Linked DNA regions of Homo sapiens: region 1 is linked to region 2. Evidence: promoter capture Hi-C in human tissues and cell types (Jung and others, 2019). All regions are on one chromosome and are shown on one strand. Each heading gives the region's core, a stretch centred on a gene start or on the middle of the fragment in contact. The rest is flanking DNA. Distances are from core to core; before and after follow the strand shown.

Region 1 (2,787 bases), core at 158-2,657, 1.1 Mb after region 2:
ACAGACAATTGATTCAATTGCACACACGCACACACACACACACTCACAGAGAGAGAGAGGAGAGAGAGAGAGAAAGAGAGAGAAAAAGAGAGTGGATTAATTAAAATATATCTGTGGGCTGAATTTGGCCATGGACAGAAAAATATATACCCCACAGCCAGGTGCAATGTCTCACGCCTGTAATCCCAGCACTTTGGGAGGCCAAGGCAGGTGGATCACTTGAGGACAGGAGTTCAAGACCAGCCTGGCCAACATAGCAAAACCCCATCTCTACTTAAAATACAAAAAAGTAGCCAGGCATGGTGGCACATGCCTGTAATCCCAGCTACTCGGGAGGCTGAGGCACGAGAATTGCTTGAACCTAGGAGGCAGAGGTTGCAGTGAGCCAAGATCACGCCACTGCACTCCAGCCTGGGTGACAGTGAGATTCTGTCTCAAACAAACAAACTATATATATCATATGACTCAAGCATGACAACAACCACCCCCCCCCAAAAAAAATCCTATTTTCTATAACGGAAATGATTTGCTCTGCTGTAATGGTGAAAGAAAAAACACCTAAATATGGTATTAAATTGCTGTTTCCAGAACACAGCTGAAAATATACCTTGTCTGGCCCTTGAAGCAAACATTTCCAACCCTAGTATAATATACTAGTATGCCGCATGATTTATCTTGTTTATTCTCTTGGCTCTTCTAGAGATTATATACTCCATAAGGCAGGGACTTTTTTTTTTTTTTTTTTTTTTGAGACGGAGTCTCACTCTGTCACCCAGGCTGGAGTGCAATGGCACGATCTCAGCTCACTGCAACCTCTGCCTCCCGGGTTCAAGAGATTCTCCTGCCTCAGCCTCCCGAGTAGCTGGGACTACAGGCACTTGCCACCACGCCCAGCTGTTTTTGTATTTTTAGTAGAGACAGGGTTTCACCGTGTTAGCCAGGATGGTCTTGATCTCCTGACCTTGTGATCCACCCGCCTCGGCCTCCCAAAGTGCTGGGATTACAGGCATGAGCCACGGCACCCGACCGAGGGCAGGGACTTTTATATGCTTTGTTAAGGAACTGCATCTGAAACCCTCATCCCTCCAGCAGAAATTATTTGCCTGATACATAGTAAGTGTCCAGTCATATCTGCCGAATAGACCGTGGCAAGAGAAGAAGGTGTTCAAAGCTACTGCTCATTGTTCACATTGTTTCTCTGTCTGCTTGTCCTTCAGCACATATGATGATGAGAAGTTGAAGACACTGGGAGCTAGAGTCACACGTCGCCCATTCACTCCCATCCACAGCTGCATCATTTCTCCCTCGCTAACCGAGGCTCACGTGTAAGTAGTCTCACCTCCAGCTCATTTGCTTTGCTAGCTTATAAATTGAAGCCGAACTGAAATGACTCAACGAGCTGTCATGTCAGTAGCTGTTCCTTTGTCCTCTTGAAAGGGACATGGAGCCTGGAGCTGGCAAAGCTATTTGGCATATAAAAATAACAGAAAGTAGACACAGTGGTTTACAGCTAAGTGGCAAATCAGCTGGGACTGAGTCATTTCATTTCTTGCCAAGCCAGACGCTCTAATGTCAAATAGTTTGCAAAGCCTGATAAAATCTGTCTACAGCCCTCATCGAGTGTGTGCGAGAACATCTCAGCCTGTGCTCAGGGGCATGTTTTCCCCAAGACTCAAGGAGCTGTTTCCCAGAGAAGCCCATCCAGTTTTCTGACCTGAGGCATGAACTCATCATTGTGTGGTGCAACAGGAACTAATCAACCTTCCAAAGAACACTCTTGCTTTCTAAAGTCTTGATGTCTTGTTCCCCTTGTGTCTATTCCAAATCTCAAGCCCAACTTTTTCTTTTTCACCAGTTAGCACTTTTCAGCTGGAAGATTTCAGGCACAGGGATACAAGCTTCTGACTTTAGGGCAGGGTTTTTCAGCCTTGACACCGCTGACATTTTGAGAGAAATAATTAATTCTTTGTTGTGAAAGGCTGTCCTGTGTATTGTAGGATGTTTAGCCGCATCCATGGCCTCTACCCACTAGATACCAGTGTTGACAACCAAAAATGTCTCCAGACATTACCAAATGTCCCCTGGGAGCAAAAGTGCATGAGCCCCCACCGTACATCATACACACACACACACACACACACACACACACACACACACACACACACACACTCCACATTGAGAACCACTGCTTTAGGGCAATGGATTCATTTAGAGCTGTGATACAATGATTCCAGACTTCTCTGTCTGCTCATTTGTCAAATATTTATTAGGCTTCTACAGTGTTCACAGTGATAATGGCCACTCCTCATCACTCTGTAGCATTATCTCACTCAGTCCTCTCAGCCTCCCTGTTGTGTAGGTGTATCATTATCCCCTCTCTGCAGATGGGAAAGCAGAAGCTCAGAGACATAAACTCACCTATTCAGGGTCACAGAGGTCAGTGTGTTGCTGAGTCAGGTCGGTCTGACTGCAAAGCCCAAGCTTTCATCACCACACACTACATAGAACATATATCCCAAAGCCTTGTCTTTAAGGAGCTCATAATATATTTGGCAAGCCAAGTTTCCTATACTTGAAGAGTAAAAGAATACAAGAGTGAAATCATAGGATAAGATGGCAAACAAAAGAAAATCACTAATAAGAGTACTTAGTTCATGAATGGAAGATGCAAAAACCATCACCAACACCATCATCATCATCACCATCATCCTCATCACCATCATCACCATCACCATCATCATCATCATCACCATCACCATCATTATCACCATCATCATCACCAGCATC
Region 2 (2,828 bases), core at 277-2,776:
ACTGACAGGAACGCAAGTTACTCAATATAGTTGATTGCAAGTAATTTAGATGTTCTCCAACAGCACAAAGAAAGAAAATGACTTCATCTTTTGGACAAGAGACAGTTCTGGAATCCTAGTTTAAATATAGATGGCAGACCTACGGTGCGATCTGAGAATGATTCTTATTTAGAAGGGGCTTCAGAAGATCTCAGAACTCCTGGAAAGACATCTTAGCATTCCATTCTGGAAATTCTTTAGTTTTGTTGGGAGAAAAAATCACTTACAAATAGAGCCAAGATTTTAATTAAAACAAGGTAGTAAATAAATGTCAAAATAAGTGGGATGAGAATAACGTTTCATTTTCAGAAGAGTCCATAGGGAACAATTCAGAGATAAATTTAATCACAAAAGGTCTGAGAATGGGAATATTCGGTTCCACCCTGGTTTTCACATCTGTTCATTTTCACTACTGGTTGCGTTTCCTACGGAGACTCGGGTGGAACATAAAAGTGGGGCTACTTTGGACAAACCATTAAAAACCTTACCCTTTTTTCTCGCTACACACAACTAGACCACATTGCTCTTAGCTAAAGGGACACCTTAAATCTATTCGTTCAGCAAAACTTATAACACCGTGTTCCTTTTCTACTCAGAGGGAATCGCACAAATTAATTCTTGCAGATACTCAGCTCTCCTGTTTTTTAAGCTTCCACGTGGGCCTTAGCCAAATAACTTCTGGTAGGCAAATTCTCCCCTTCTTCAGTTGAGAGCTCAGAGCAAGCTGTTGGATTAAGCAAAAGCACCTTTTAAAAAATTAATATTCAAGGCAGCTGTACCGCGGAGGGCCTGGGTCTCGGAGTCTAAAAAATCAGACTGGACGTTACTATTTTTTTTTAGGCAAACGACAGCTCGTTTCTCATTTGTAAAACCGGGGGAACATCTTACCGAATAAACCTTACACAAACAGAAAGGATTCCTAAGGGCTGGGAAAATACTATTTTGCTGTCCCCAGGATGGAATATCAGCATCCTTGTCTTTTAGCTCTTAATAAAGCTCTAACTAGTCACAGGAGGAGCCAGGCTGCATGATCACGCACACTCTGGACGTCTAGGTTTTCCGACCTAATAAGGGGGCAGGTCGCGTCGTTCCCTGCTTAAATTAGAGACCACCTCCACCTGCCAAGGGCCCTTCAAACCCTCCGCCCCTAGGTCGCTAACGATCACCGCTTTAGTTCTAGCTCCAGGCGCCGCCTGGCGGCTGTCTCCGGAAGTCGCCTGCGAGCCTCGGGGTCCTGACCGCTGCTGGGCCTGCCCGTAGATTTGCCTGACTCTAGCGAACCTGGCTCCGCCCCTCCCCCACTATACGTTGAGGATTTTAAGACGGCGATGAAAGGGCTGAGGTTGTGGCGACGGGGGCGTCCAGCGGCATCTCCACTCCCCCAAGGATGGCGGAATCAGGCCGTTGTCGGGCAGCTCTCGACCCGGAAGTCGCTCGCGGCGCGAGGCCCCCGTTGCCGAGCGCGGGCGCGGGGGGCGGAGCTCGGCGGAGACGGGGAAGGGGTCGCCGTGGCTGCCGGTCCTCGAGTTGGGGGCTGCCGCGGACACTGCTAGGCAGACGGCGAGTACCGAGCGCGGGTGGCCGCGGTGTCCGTGGGCCACGCTCAGCTGCGGTCAGAGGCGACATGAGTGCCGCGGGGCTGCTGGCCCCGGCCCCGGCCCAGGCTGGAGCGCCGCCGGCCCCCGAGTACTACCCCGAGGAGGATGAAGAGCTGGAGAGCGCCGAGGACGACGAGCGCAGCTGTCGGGGCCGCGAGTCGGACGAAGGTGAGTCCTGCCGCTCGCCCGGCCGCCCGGAGCGGAGGTGGGACCGCTGGGGGAGGGGGTGGGGCTGTTCGGGAGAGGGGCGGGGCGGCCTCCGGGGCCTGGGGCTGCGTGGAGGGGCCGCCGGGAGTTGCGGGGCTCGGGGAAGTTACCCCCATCCGTGCTGGAGTAGCGGGGAAGCCCTGGGTGCGTTACACTCGACCGTGATGGGGAGAGGGGACTTAGATGTTGTCACGCTGGGGGTCCCTTTAAGACCCCGTCCTCCCTCCCAGCCGTTTCTGATTGAACCTCACTCACTAGTAGGAATTAGAAACTCATTTACTGAATACATCGAGTGTAGTTCGCCCCTTTTTTGTGTGTGAGAGCATCAGAGTCCAAAGTTGCCCCTCCCCACCCCCGAAATGCATAAGTCATCTATACTTTAGGTAGTACACTATTGAGAACTCAGGTTGGTTAAAGGAAAGGGACCTAGAACCAGCCAGATACAGGTTTAAATTTGGCTTTGTCACTTAACTCAGCTTTGTAAACTTAAGTTTTCCAGCCTCGATTTACCCAACTGTAATGGAGCTGTTTAATTCCCACACCTGCCCTAGAAGGCACTTCCTAGGGTCGGTATAGGGATTAAATGACATGCGCATAAAGTACTTGGCCTGGTACTGTAAATACTCCGTAAATGTTCTCCCCACCCGCCCCCCTCCCGGAAACAGGTAAGAGAGGGAGAGATTTGCTTAATGGTCCCCAGGTGTTGTGTTTTCAGTCCCACGCTCTTTGCACTGTCATCACAGAGTCTCAGAGCCTTGCTTTTCAAACTGGGCTTTATAATTTGGCAAGTGTGAGGAACGCTATTTTGGAGGGATGGAGGAGGAGGAAGGTGATGAAATGTGAGAGATCAAGGGAGGAGAAATAGGAAACAAAGAGAGACCGATATATGAGCGGAATATTCTGGGACAAAATCGGGCCGTGGAGCAAAAGCTAGACCAGCTGTTTGGAATGGGGCCTACGTTTTATTCATCTGAGTTTCCCGAG

Evidence for each region. Contacts are between HindIII fragments. The study calls those that stand out against the background at their distance.
Region 1: a fragment that was not itself captured here is called in contact with the fragment with the promoter of SUDS3 in region 2 in 1 of the 25 tissues and cell types used here (dorsolateral prefrontal cortex).

What each region holds. Positions count from the first base shown.
Region 1 is chr12:119,477,877-119,480,663 of GRCh38, forward strand. It overlaps CCDC60 (coiled-coil domain containing 60), which reads left to right. Exons shown (of 14, transcript NM_178499.5): 4 at 1,218-1,325. The region is part of intron 2 of PRKAB1-AS1 (PRKAB1, TMEM233 and CCDC60 antisense RNA 1); the gene reads right to left. Among named protein-coding and RNA genes, the nearest start is that of TMEM233, 110 kb to the right of the region's middle. The HindIII fragment of the contact is 3,028 bases long and covers 1-2,787 here.
Region 2 is chr12:118,375,029-118,377,856 of GRCh38, forward strand. It overlaps SUDS3 (SIN3A corepressor complex component SDS3), which reads left to right and starts at 1,527. Exons shown (of 12, transcript NM_022491.3): 1 at 1,527-1,805. The coding sequence starts at 1,664. It overlaps LOC124903031 (a long non-coding RNA gene), which reads right to left and starts at 1,099. Exons shown (of 2, transcript XR_007063480.1): 1 at 928-1,099; 2 at 270-763. RefSeq lists silencers at 1,524-1,743, 1,774-1,923 and an enhancer at 1,582-2,082. The HindIII fragment of the contact is 10,741 bases long and covers 1-2,828 here.